Linked DNA regions of Homo sapiens: region 2 is linked to region 1. The links are contacts of gene promoters, found by promoter capture Hi-C in blood cells and fetal thymus (Javierre and others, 2016). All regions are on one chromosome and are shown on one strand. Each heading gives the region's core, a stretch centred on a gene start or on the middle of the fragment in contact. The rest is flanking DNA. Distances are from core to core; before and after follow the strand shown.

Region 1 (6,591 bases), core at 772-3,271:
CTAGGATAGGGCCAGGAAGAAGAGGTATAGAAAACTAACCCCAGATTCTTTTGCTTTGTTGGGTGAGAAGGGGAAAAAGAGAAGAGAAAGATATAAGTTCCTGCACCACTGAATACTAATACATATCATATGAGAGGGTAGTAGCCTTTTTATCTTCACTGCTTGCATCGACAGCACAGCTCCTCACCACTTACTCTTCTGACTCCTCCATCAACCCTGGGCTAATGGTCAGAAAAGGACTAAGCAGTGTCTTGGGGACTAATGAAAGGACAGCTACACTCATGGATTCCTTGGTGCCACATGCTCCTATCCTATGTGTTCCTGTGTCTGTTCTTCCCTCTTTTGCATTCCCTTTCATCTCTGTCTCTGTTTAGTCAGTCAAAGTCAGTAATAACTGTAATTCATAAATGAGTTTATATTCATGCTCTGCCACCATATCCAGAGGAGGATTCTGAAAATAAAACTGAGGGGTTGGGACTCCCCTGTCAAAATAATTCTCATTTGAGCTCTGAGGCCTACTTGTTTCCTGTGAAAATAGGGGCTGTCCTCTGCTCTTTCCTATTTTCTAAGGGGTGGTTGGTGGCCATGAGACAAACACCTGTTGACACTTGCAAACCACTGTGGGGGAAGGCTTCTGGACCCACAGTCTGTCTGGAGAGCATATGTTACACTTCCTGGAGAGTTACAGATCTTCCCAACTTTGGATCATTTCAGAGCAGGCTTATGAATAACTCCTTTCTGCATTTCAATCTCTCTGGTATGTTAGAAGATAGGCCAAAAATTCTGAACGGGACTCCAAAGATCAACAAGTCAGTCTCTTTTCTACTTAACCAATCTCTAACCCCAGGTATCACAAGACAACCTATCGGGTGAGCCAAGTCAGGTCTGCCCTCAAAACTGAACCACAGGCCGAGAACGGTGGCTCACGCCTGTAATCCCAGCATTTTGGGAGGCCAAGGCGGGCAAATCACCTGAGGTCGGGAGTTTGAGACCAGCCTGACCAACATGGAGAAACCCTGTCTCTACTAAAAATACAAAATTGGTCGGGCGTGGTGGCACATGCCTGTAATCCCAGCTACTTGGGAGGCTGAGGCAGGAGAATCTCTTGAACCCGGGAGGCAGAGGTTGCAGTGAGCCAAGATCGCGCCATTGCAGTCCAGCCTGGGCAACAAGAGTGAAACTCTGTCTCAAAACAACAACAACAACAAACTGAACCATAAAAACATTCCAATGTAAACAGCAGTCTTTAACCCACCATTACCCAATTAGGAAGTAGGGTACCTTACGTTTCTTTGGCAGCTAGTTCCAAAACACTCATCTTCCAGATTCTGAGAATAAATGTCATTTATTGGGATGGGAATGTGACAGGTTATAGTATCGTGGCATGGAGAGAGCGAGCTAGGAGTTGAGAAGGAACATAAAAGCTGTTTAAAGCTACTAACTCTGGGTTGAACTCCAGTTCCAAGTCCTTCGCTGGCTGTGTTAGTTTGAGCAAGTGCCCTGAGTCTCCTGTTATGTAAAATGAGACTAATAATAACGCTATCCCCTTCAAAAGGTGGTTTTGGGATTAAATGATATAAATGCACGTACAATACTTTACACAGTACCTGGCAGACACATACTGAGTATTCATCGTTAGCTATCGTTATTAGCCTTGCGATCCCGTGCAAATCATGTAACCTATTTGGGTACAATTCCGTCAACTGCAGAAGGCCTATCATGGAAACCGCCCTGCTTCCCTCCAGAGTTGTGAGGATTAAGAGAGTGCACTCAGAAAGTCAGGTACATCGAAGAGCGAGACGGACCGCTATGACGTAGGACCTGGGGCTGGCTGAAGGCTTGTGGGCGGGGCTTGGTCTTGAGTTTGCATGCGGCGACGGGATTGGTCAAGGAGAACATTCATGAAGCCCTCTCAAGGGCCCGCCCTAGATCTCACCGCGCTTGCGCACGTTCTGTTTGCTTCGCCGCAAAGTTACGTGTGACCTTGCGACGCGTGTTGCGCTCCGGTCGCATAAGCGTCAGTGCCTGTCGCTGCGGCTGCGTGGCGGGTTGTCCAGGTAACCACGGGAGTTGTCGCTGTCTAGGAGCATCTGAAAGACAGGTGTGCGTCATGCACTTGAAGCACCTGAGGACCCTGCTGAGCCCTCAGGTGAGGAATTGCGTGCCAGTCCCTCCCCCTTATGCTTTATGTTCCAAGAAAAGTGGGGGAACTGAAGTTTAATGATGTTGACCTCCTACTGTGTGCAGAAGGCTGTAAGGGATATAGCGATGATCTGGATCTTGGCCTGTCGATACAGCGTCCAGGAGGCGAGATGCAGGGCTAAGGACTTGTAGCTTTCCTTACATTTCATTCACATCAGTTGTGTACAGGCCCCATGCTGGGGTTCGTAGGAATCCCAAACCACCCGACTTATGTCCCTCCCTTCAGGAGGCTCGTATTAGAGGGTGAGGTGCACATGTAAGCAGCGAGTATGCATGTGCCCATAATTAAATAAGCGCCTTAGGTGCAAGCCCTGAAGGGGGAGTGCAAAGACCGAACCGTGTATTCTGATTCAGGAGAGGCTGGGCACTAGGGGAGGAGCCCTGAAACATGGTGAAGAAAGGGTGGGCTTTGGAGTTAGCACACCAGAATTTAAGTCCTAGCTCCACCACTACTTTCTTATTTTCTTTTTAAAATTTCTTACCTTGTCCTTATTTCAGGTCAACCACTACTTTATTTAACTATTTGAGACAGAGTTTTGCTCTGTTGCCCAGGCTGGAGTGCAGTGGCTCGATCTCACTGCAACCTCCGCCTCCCGGGTTCAAGGGATTTTCCTGCCATAGCCTCCCAAGTAGCTGGGATTACAGACGTGCGCTAGCACGCCCGGGTAATTTTTTGTTTCTTTGTTTGTTTTTGTTTTTGTTTTTTGTAGAGACGAGGTTTCCCCATGTTGCCCAGACTGGCCACCAGTACTTTAAACAAATGACCTGATATCTCTAACTTTAGCCTTTATTATACAATGTCTCGGAGCACTCACCAACTTCTTCATTTGAAAAAACATGAGTACTAATAGCAACTTTAGGGGACTTGGGGAAGAGTTATATAGAGTAATATACACAAAAGAGCATTGTAAACTGAAAAGCAGTGTGAAAAATTGATAGACAAGAGGAAAGGACATTCAAAATTCAAAGGACAGAATAATACAAAGCTAATAAGAATAAGATGTCTGGCCAGGCCCAGTGGCTCACACCTGTAATCCCAGCAATTTGGGAGGCCAAGGTGGGAGGATCACTTGAGCCCAAGATTCCAAGACCTCTACAAAAAAATTTTGACCAGGTGCGGTGGCTCACACCTGTAATCCCTGTACTTTGGGAGGCCGAGGCGGGCGGATCACCTGAGGTCAGGAGTTCAAGTCCAGCCTGGCCAACATGGTGAAACCCCATCTCTACTAAAAATGCAAAAATTAGCCGGGCGTGGCAGCAGCCGCCTGTAATCCCAGCTACTCAGGAGGCTGAGGAAGGAGAATCGCTTGAACCCGGGAGGTGGAGGTTGCAGTGAGCCGAGATCGTGCCACTGCACTCCAGCCTGGGGGACAAGAGTGAGACTTTGTCCAAAAAAAAAAAATTTTTTTTAAATAGCCTCGTGTGGTGGCAAGCACCTGTAGGCCCAGCTGCTGGGGTCACTGAAGTGGGAGGATCTCCTGAGCCCAGGAGGTCGAGGCTGCAGTGAGACGTGATCACACCACTGCACTCCAGCCTGGGTGACAGAGTGAGGCTGTGTCTTAAAAATAAATAAGATGTTCCATAACTGAGTGTGTAATATGTACTGGGGTACCTTAATAAAGAAATTGGGATTATGGTTTATGGATTTACACATACATGGATTTAATCATGGTTCTAGGCCAGGCGCAGTGGTTCATGCCTGTAAACCAAGCTCTTTGGGAGGCCGAGGCAGGCAGATCACCCGAGGTCAGGGGTTCGACACCATCCTGGCCAACGTGGTGAAACTACTAAAAATACAAAAATTAGCTAGATGTGGTGGCGCATGCCTGTAATCCCAGCTACTCGGGAGGCTGAGGCAGGAGAATCGCTTGAACTCAGGAGGCAGAGTTGCAGTGAGTCAAGATCGCACCACTGCACTCCAGCCTGGGTGACAGAGCGAGACTCTGCCTCAAAAAATAAATTAATTAAATAAATAAATCATGGTCCTACCACTTACAAACTGTATATGTGAACTTGGGCAAATTACTTAATCTTTTTGGGCTTCCATTCATCTATCTGTAAAAGGGGGATAATAATAGCATCTACCTCAGTGTTATGAGGTAAAATGAGATTATGCTTGTCAAGCACTTATCAAAATGCCTATTCTATGGTAAGTACTTGTTAAAGGCAAGCTCTTATTATTTTATTCCCTACCTCACTTAATAAAAAAATCTAGTGAGGTACATATTGTAGAGAAAGGAGAATTAATTGATTATGGAAATCAGGAAGGCTTCACAGAGGGTGTGGCATTTGGACAATAGGAGGAAATGAGAACACAGGCCGGGCGTGGTGGCTCACGCCTGTAATCCCAGCACTTCAGGAGGCCAAGGTGAGTGGATCACTTGAGGTCAGGAGTTCAAGACCAGCCTGGGCAATACGGTGAAACCATGTCTCTACCAAAAATATAAAAAAATTAGCCAGGCATGGTAGCACACGCCTATAGCCTCAGCTACTTGGGAGGCTGAGGCAGGAGAATCGCTTGAGCCCAAGAAACAGAGGTTGCAGTGAACTGAGATTGTGACACTGCACTCCAGTCTGGGGGACAGAGTGAGACTCCGTCAAAAAAAAAAAAAGAAGGAAATTAGAACAAAGATAGTTGTGCTCTCTCCTCAGTTGGAGAAAAAAATAAAAAGACAGAGATTTGTGCTCATTGCTCAGCAAGCTGTCCATTGAATCTGTACTTTAAAAATTTCTCCGCCCTAATGGAAAAATTGGAAATGAAATCCTCCTTCAGTCTCTCAAAATAAGATGATGTCATGATGCAGGTAGGGCTGAATGCCCAGAATTGGGCAAAGCGATAAAGCAGGAGGATCAGCAAAGATTGATGAGGAGCCCTCAGGCCTTCTAACCTAATATAATGAAGAGTTAGAGGATCATAGTGATGGTGGTGTGGCTATTTTCTGGTTTGAGGATTTGCAGGAAAATAGACTTTTTACTTCTGACTTTGGAGATAGGTGAGTTTGGAGTGTAAAGTGTCAATGTTTGAAGCCAGAACTCTAGTGTCCAAATAATTAAACAATTGGGGCAGAAGAAAAGCAGAATAAAATGTTTTGTTTTCAAGGAAGGAAACCCTTAGTAGCAGAGCTAGTCCCTTAGGACCAGAGCTAGTGTTGGAAGGGTCAGATCTGGTCAGAATAATTCACCTGGAGATAACTTCTAACTTGGGTTTCTCTGAAGTGGGTAGTTAAGAAGAAAAGAAAGTGGGATTATTCGTCCTGAGTCTCAACTCGTACTCGCCCATCCTGAACTCTCACTGTCTCTCCCTTTCCTTTCAAATAAGCCCAAACTCCTTTGCCTGGCTTCAAAGACTTCCTGAGCTGGCCTGTTTTTCCTGCCTTACCCCGTCTATTCTACTATTTATAAGGTATAATAGTTTCAAATAAACTAAATTACTGTTTCTTGTCCAGAATTTGCCTTTGCTCATTGCCATTCCTCCCATCTCAGATAACTTCCTACTCAACTGCATTCATTCTTCAAAGCTTAATTTTGATAATTTAAGCATAAAATTCTCTCAGGCTTCTCCAAACTATTGTAGTACTTTATACATACTTTAATAGGACTTTTCTATTTTGCACCATCTTATTAGACGTGGAGGCAGGATCTATGGTTTGCTTTTTGTCTCTCTCTCAGCCCCTGGCCAAGTGCCTTGATCAATAAGGTGCTAAAAAAATATTAATTGAATGAATGGCTAATGACCAAAACTTACCAGACTAATTGAATTTATTTCAGTAGCAGACCTGGAAACGAGGAGGCCGTTGCAGGGATTCATTGATACAGTTGACTTAGCACCCTGCCTCTTAGTGCATTTGCATATGAGTCTCTAGAAGCCTGTTGTTCTCACAGTCCAGGATCTGAAGGCCTTGGAGACCAGCATGGGCCACAGGCATCTCTTTGTTTTGAGGATAGAACCGTGACAGGAAGAAAATTGACCAGTATTACACTAGAATTAATGAAGCTAGAAATGCTTTTGGCATTCTAGACCAGCACATGGGTTTGTTTTTACCCCTTTGCCTCTACAGGATGGAGCTGCAAAGGTGACCTGCATGGCTTGGTCCCAGAACAATGCCAAATTTGCTGTCTGCACAGTGGACCGAGTGGTCTTGCTGTATGATGAACATGGAGAACGGAGAGATAAATTCTCCACCAAACCAGCTGACATGAAGGTAAACAGTGTATTCATGTGTACCTTATTTAACCTATTGATGGGGTCTCACAACTTGAAAGACGTAGTCTGCCTTCTAGCCATCAGCATAGGAAATGGCATACCCCACCTTTTTCTCAGTATAAATCCTCAAGCTCCCTTAGGAGCACACATATGCCTTTTTTTCTCTTTTCTCTTTCATGTGTACT
Region 2 (6,733 bases), core at 4,132-6,631, 120 kb after region 1:
GGCTCCACACAGACTAACGTAGGCACTATAAGGACCAGCCCAACCCCATGGGCGGGGGGGCCCATATGGACCAGGGGACCTTGCCTTGACTGAGGCACTTCACGAGCTCAGTGAGAAGGGCCCTGTATTCACCTCCACTGCCCCCAGGGGCTGTGGACAAACCGGCTGGGGGACTGCCCAGCCTCCCACCTGTTTATTTAACTTATTTCAGTGCTTTATAATAAAGGAAACACTAACAAAGCCATGTCTATGCTGAATTGGCAATGGCAGGCAATTTGGCCTTACCCTTAGCATAGTAGTCCATGCTGTGATGGGGGAAGCAGGGGCAGTGAGAGGGAACCAGAGGTAGGCAGCAGTCAGGCTGAGTTTAATGATGGGGAACTGGGCCAGACCAAACACAGACCTCTGCCCATCCCCTTGGCCTTTGGCCCATGGCTCCAAGAGGCCAGAAGCGGCCCAGAGGGAGATATGGTTCCTCCCCAAGGCAGGCAGCCATGGTCCCTTAGACTTTGTGCAAAATACTAAATGCTAATTTGGCATCGAGGGCCAGCTCTGAAAAGAGAAGGGGCAATCCTCTGTGCAGCCAGCCCAGGGGACAAGGAAAGGTAGGATACGAGGCCCCTGGCCAAGAGAAAAGGGGTAGGTAGGAAAGAAGAAGGAAAAGACCCCTCCGCCCCTAGCATGGGGGACACAGGCACAGGGCAAGTTTCTGTAAATTCCTCTGGGGTAGAGGGCAGACATCCAAGCAGTGGAGATTACAGATCCTCATCTCCAATGCCCTCGAAGGCGAAATTGCCGTGGACATCACTGGCACTGGCATCTGTGCTGGGACTGCCAATTCCCCGCAAGCTCACGGCACTCAGCTTACTCTGTAACAAAGGCAGGGTGGGGTCAGAGATCTTGGGCGTGCAAGATCCCCCAACAAACAGCAACCTCACCAACGCTGGAACTCACTGAGAGTTTGACCATAGACTCCCGGGTGGCATCAGGTGACTCCTGGGGAAGAAGAGGCAGAGGTGTCAGAAACTCACTAGGAGAGGTGAGGCAGGGCTGAGAGCCAGGGTTCTGACCAGGAGGTAATACTTACAAGCAGTGGTGGGGACTTCACTGCTTGCTGGCTGTCTGAGCGTCTCAGAGTACCCCCCACCCGCCGGCGCAGCATCTGGGGACAGACACAAGGTGCCGGTGAGGGCAGGATCACTTCCCCTCCCTCTCAAGACAAGCCTCACATCTAGGACAAAAGGCAAGGGGAGCACACCTGCTCACTGCTCAGTCCACACTTGCTGCCTACCTTCCTGATACTGCCGCCAGATTTCTTCACCATCAGTTCATCAACCATGGACTGCAAGCAGATGCTCATCATGATAGCCTGAGGGCAAGAAGAGTGTCCAGCTTGATGAGAGTGGTCACTCTGAGCCCAGCACCACTAATGCCTCCCATATTGAGTACTGGAAACTCTACACTTTAAGGTGCTCCAGAGGAGGGCTGAGGGTAGGTTCACACCTGGGGGCTAGTGATGGTGACCCACTGTAGCCGGTCCTTGCTCATGAGGTATTCAAAAGCCAGTTCCAGGCGCACCTCACCCCGGCCCCGGCCTGGGCTGCTCGTGCTTCCACTGGGCAATGGTACCTGGGAGAGGAAGGGGAATTCGGTTGAGTTCACTCTGACCAACCTGTCTGGCTCCCTGACCCGCTGCAGCCCATACCTAAGCTCAAGGCTTGCCGGGCCCCCAACCCAGGCCCTTCCCCCTCCTAACCCGACTCACAGAGGAGGTGACCCGCCAGCATCGCATGCGGGTGACCCGGAAGGAGCCTTCTCGGAGTTGCTGGCCAGGCAGGCGGAGCTGCAGGCTGAGCTCACTGTTGCCCGCGCTCACCACCACAGGACAGTCCTTTTCTGGGAAGTCAGCCACACAGGCATCAAAGCGCAAGTAGCCATAGTGCCGCAGCGTCTGGGCCAGTCTCAGGAACTGAAAAATGGTCATCACATGGGGGTAGATTAGGAGGGAGAATGGGGCAGCTCAGAAAAAGCAACCCCGGTCGGGCGCGGTGGCTCATGCCTATAATCCCAGCACTTTAGGAGGCAGAGGCAGACAGATCACAAGGTCAGGAGCTCAAGACCATCCTGGCTAACATGGTGAAACCCTGTCTCTCCCAAAAATACAAAAAATTAGCCGGGCGTCGTGGCGGGTGCCTGTAGTCCCAGCTACTCGGGAGGCTGAGGCGGGAGAATGGCATGAATCTGAGAGGCAGAGCTTGCAGTGAGCCAAGATCGCGCCACTGCAAGCCCTTAGAGGAAGACAGAGAGGAGGCAGGGCTCACCTCCTTCTTGGAGACTTTCTCTTGCAGAGATTTGAGTTGCCGGTGCTGTTCCTTGGTGACCAAGATCCACCCACGCTCAATATCTGATACCGTCTATAGTAGAGACAAGGGGCAGGCAGTAGGAGGTCCCAGTCAGCAATCCAAGGAAAGCGTCTACCATTACCTCTGTCCAGCCTGACCCCTAGCCCCACACTTGAGCGACCTCTCTGCAGTAAGTCCTTGATCTTGTCAGCTTAATAAAAGTAGGGAGAGTAGATATTGTGCCAGCAGCACTGATAGTATTCTAGGAACTTCCCCACAAATTGGGAACAAAGACACGACAGCAGTTTTCTTGGGAGAGTGAGTCACCCGTTATTTTCTTCAGGGGAAGGGTTCTGAGGCAGCTCCAAGCTCACCTGAGCATAAAGCAGGTTCAGGCCAACCCGGTTCTCCATGACATCGTCATCATAGGCAGAGTCCCAATAACTGTGAGGCCAAGGGGTGGAAAGGGGTAATGGGGCTAAGCTGGGTTAAGGCAAGAGGTAGAATGGAAAATGGGCAAAACAGGAGCAATCTGGAACTATCAGGGGCTAATGGTATAGTGGGAGGAAGCTTGGGAGGCCTGGCAGAAACACCCAGCACTACACCCCCTTGTCCAGATTATTCTGTCTCAATATGTGGCCCAATAATCCAATCCAGCACAGCACCTCCCACCCCTCCCCTTCCAGGCCCAGCCCTGACCTCTTCCTTAGCACAATCTTATACTCTTGACTCCGAAGGCTGGTGACAGACACATAAGGCAGCTCAAACTCTTGCAACTTCCGTACAACTACAGGTTAAAAAAAAAAAAATGAAAATATAGTGAGATTTAAAGGAAGGGAAATCAAGAAAGAAGTGCCCTGAGGCAATGTTCATTCTGGGGGTGGGGGTGGGGAGTTAGGGGGGCTGCAAACTCTACTGAAGTACCCTTGTACTGCAGTCAAGTCCAGAGAAACTCACAAGAAAAGGCTCCATCCTCTTTTTCTCGAACTAAGAATAGACTAAAGTATCCAATCAAGTCATCTGGAAGATCCAGCTTTGCAGCTACAGCCTGGGGATAGGGATAGAAGTACAGCTCATCATACTGGCTGGTTCCAATCATTCTCCAAGCCCAGGACCCCAGGATGTAGGGGAAGAAGGGGCAGTGCTGAACAAGCGCCTCACCTCCAGGACATCCTCAGTCTGATCTGAAGTTAGCACGTTGACCAGAACTTTCTGCCCGTTGCTGAGCAGCACTTCCAAGGACACTTCCTCTGTGGGGACCTGCTGTGTCTCCTGTTGTGAGCACACATGGGGATGGGAAGCACTGCCTTGTCCCTTGCCTTGACCTATGCCCAACTCTATTTCTAGGTCCCTTGTGTGTCTTTATTCTCAGCTGCTTAAATATAGGCTGTGATTTCTTTGATTTCATAAGAATAGAAGTTCCATTCCATTAAAAAAGATGACTCCTCTGTTATTAAGATGACATGGCCTGGCTGGGTGTGGTGGCTCACACCCGTAATCCCAGCACTTTGGGAGGCCAAGGCGGGTGGATCACCTGAGGTCAGGAGTTCGAGACCAGCCAGGCCAACACGGCAAAACCCCGTCTCCACTAAAAATACAAAAATGAGCCGGACATGGTGGCAGGCGCCTGTAATTCTAGCTACTTGGGAGGCTGAGGCAGGAGAATCGCTTGAATCCGGGAGGCGGAGATTGCAGTGAGCTGAGATCGCACCACTGCACTCCAGCCTGTGCAAAAGAGCAAGACTCTGTCTCAAAAAAATAAAAGACATGACCTTCCAGCAAGGTCCTTTCCTTAAATCTTGGTCCCACCCAAAGCCCTACCTGTTGTGCCCGACGCAGGAAACTGTTGAAAGTCTCGCTGCTCCCAAGCAATGGGTCTTGCCGAACTACGAGGACAAGAGAACATTATTACAGGAACTTAGCACTCACTCTTGGCTCCCCAGTCCTCCTCTCAGTAGGTTCCCCCGACCCCATTTCCTGGGCTGATGGTGGCCTGCCACATCCCCCAGCTGGCCTCACCTCACTCACTGTTTGCATAAATTCTTCACCTGCCCCACCCTTGGCTGCCATCTAGGTGAGTCCAGTCTATAGAACTAGGGAAATAACAATGATGTTAATCTAAAGCACATCAGATACAAATTAAGTTCTCTCCACTGATATTAAGACTAGTGTTATACTAGTATTTCTCATAGATGTTAGTGCCCAAATTGTTTTGCTAGTACACAGAGTTACACATCCTCGTACACTATTTACTTTGCTAACTGCATAACAGATCAAACAAGAGCCTTCCTAGATCTAGAAATTAAATCAGGCCCTTCCACAGAACCAGCTGTTTTTAAGTCTCTCCCCATAGTCCTCAATATAGTCAACCTAGTTTCCTGCAACCACTCACCAGCTTGCATGTACTTCTCTAACTGCTCTCTCCTCTGTTCTACCTCAGCAGGAGTCAGAGAGAAAAGCTTCTTTGGGGGGAATGCAGGAAGCACATTGGCCCCATACTCCTTCCGAAGCTATTTAGAGAAAGAGATACAACCCTTCACATAAACACAGAAAATGAGATGAGGCAATCTACATATGCTCATAATGTTCTCTTGGGTGCCCCTCCCTTCCCTCAGTCCCTGTTCCCCTGTCTACCCTGGTCATCTGAGAAACAATTCCTTTGACAGCGGTAGCACCTCAAGGGAGCTGTCCTAGATATAAGTTGTGCTCTATTTTACTGTGTACAAGTCAGCCCCTCCACAGTACGGGGAGGATTTGTACTGGGCCAGGACCTATAGGGAGCCCCTTGACCACCTAGCAAGACTGTTCACTGAACCCTTAAAGGAAGGAAAGGGCTTTATAAAGTGCACAGTTAATAGCTAAGTCTGTTCACAAAATATCTTAGGACTTAAAGGGACTTTGCAGATCAAAGAATCCATCTTTCAGTTGTAGAAACTGAGGCCCAAAGAAATCAGTTTCTACAGGCCTCATGCCTGTAATCTCAGCATTTTGGGAGGCAAGGTGGGTGGATCACCTGAGGTCAGGAGTTTGAGACCAGCCTGGCCAACATAGTGAAACCCCTCTCTACTAAAAATACAAAAATTAGCTGGGTGTGGAGGCAGCCGCCTGTAATCCCAGCTACTCAGGAGGCTGAGGAAGGAGAATCGCTTGAACCCAGGAGGCAGAGGTTGCAGTGAGCCGAGATCGTGCCACTGCACTCCAGCCTGGGCAACAAGAGAGAAACTCCGTCCCAAAAAAAGATATCAGGTAACTTGTTCAGGGTTGCACAACTAATTATCAGTGGAGCTCTACTGAGTTAAATAGAGTTTAAGATCTGGTAAGGAAGGAGGAGAAACATTGCATCACAGATACATAACGATAATTGGCACAGCTAAACACACTGAAATGAGCCGAAGAACACAAAAGGAAATCGGTGAATCGTTTGTATAAGCAGGGAAAAGAATTTCAAGTTGCCGCTCAGATGACAGAAGGAATGTGCTTTGACAGCCTGGGTGGAGGTAGTGGGGGGAGGGGTTGGTTTGTCCATGCAGGGGTAAAGGCTACTAGAGCAGTAAGACTGGACAGAAAACCAGAATATAAGAACAGGAAGGAGCAGTTGTTGCGCGGACATTAAGCTTCTTAGGGAGTTCCCGGAAATGTCAGACAAGATAAACCAGGGCCCTACCCTGTGGCAGTGATTAAAGGGGAACTACAGCCTACGGGAACAAGAAGAGCGGGTAAAGGGAGACACTGATGTCCACGTGTAGGGAAGGGCTTGAAGCTGTCTCAAGGCAGGGGTGCTAGTCCCACCTGCTCGTGCAGCCCCAGGAGCTGGCTGTAGCGCACCCGACAGTGCAGGACTCCATTCACGTGAATGTTATAGGCCTGAGGACACAAAAGTAGTCAAGCATTTTAGGGTTGCGGTCTGCGCAACCCCCCTGAGAACCCTGGCCGGAAGTTGCCTGGCAACTCGCCGGAGTAACGCGCTAATCTCCCGAGGGATAGTTCGCTTGTTTTCGCCAGGGCCAAGTCCCAAAGCTGAAGAGCCAGTCCGGGGGAAATTCGGACGCTTGTGTTGCAGTCTCACTGCCCAAGAGGCCAGTGACGCCCACCAGGGCAGCTGCGGCCTAGCTCGGGGAAGCGACCCGGCCTAAGGGCCTACAGGAGCTCGGGCGACCACTGCACGAATCACACACATGAGATAAGCTCCCAGAGAGGCCGTCGGGAGTCGGCGGCCCAGGACCAGGCCCGAAGGGTGGCGGTCAGGCCTCAGAGGCCGCTCCGAGATGGCTCGGGCCCGTTATCCCCGCCCCTGCCCGGCCCGGCTCGGCTCCGGCCGCTCCTCACCACGTAGGCGGAGCCGCCGCTGTCCCCGCTGCGGGACTCGGTTTCGGGAATGGAAAAGTGCATGT

The links. The method cuts DNA at HindIII sites, captures the fragments that hold promoters and counts their contacts. A CHiCAGO score of 5 or more calls a contact.
Region 2: a contact is called between a fragment that was not itself captured here and the fragment with the promoter of IFT172 in region 1, in 1 of 17 cell types (naive CD4 T cells). The highest score is 5.2, in naive CD4 T cells.

Annotation. Positions count from the first base shown.
Region 1 is chr2:27,485,173-27,491,763 of GRCh38, reverse strand. IFT172 (intraflagellar transport 172) reads left to right here and starts at 2,021. Exons shown (of 48, transcript NM_015662.3): 1 at 2,021-2,149; 2 at 6,261-6,404. The coding sequence starts at 2,111. The HindIII fragment of the contact is 7,682 bases long and covers 1-5,722 here.
Region 2 is chr2:27,370,742-27,377,474 of GRCh38, reverse strand. SNX17 (sorting nexin 17) reads right to left here. Exons shown (of 15, transcript NM_014748.4): 1 at 6,669-6,733; 2 at 6,132-6,206; 3 at 4,735-4,852; 4 at 4,164-4,228; 5 at 3,504-3,614; 6 at 3,300-3,390; 7 at 3,042-3,129; 8 at 2,717-2,786; 9 at 2,322-2,414; 10 at 1,766-1,969; 11 at 1,504-1,629; 12 at 1,292-1,369; 13 at 1,088-1,162; 14 at 955-996; 1 more. The coding sequence starts at 6,731. The coding sequence ends at 756. ZNF513 (zinc finger protein 513) reads left to right here. Exons shown (of 4, transcript NM_144631.6): 4 at 1-240. Among named protein-coding and RNA genes, the nearest start is that of SNX17, 3.5 kb to the right of the region's middle. RefSeq lists enhancers at 6,477-6,566, 5,968-6,733. The HindIII fragment of the contact is 1,155 bases long and covers 4,804-5,958 here.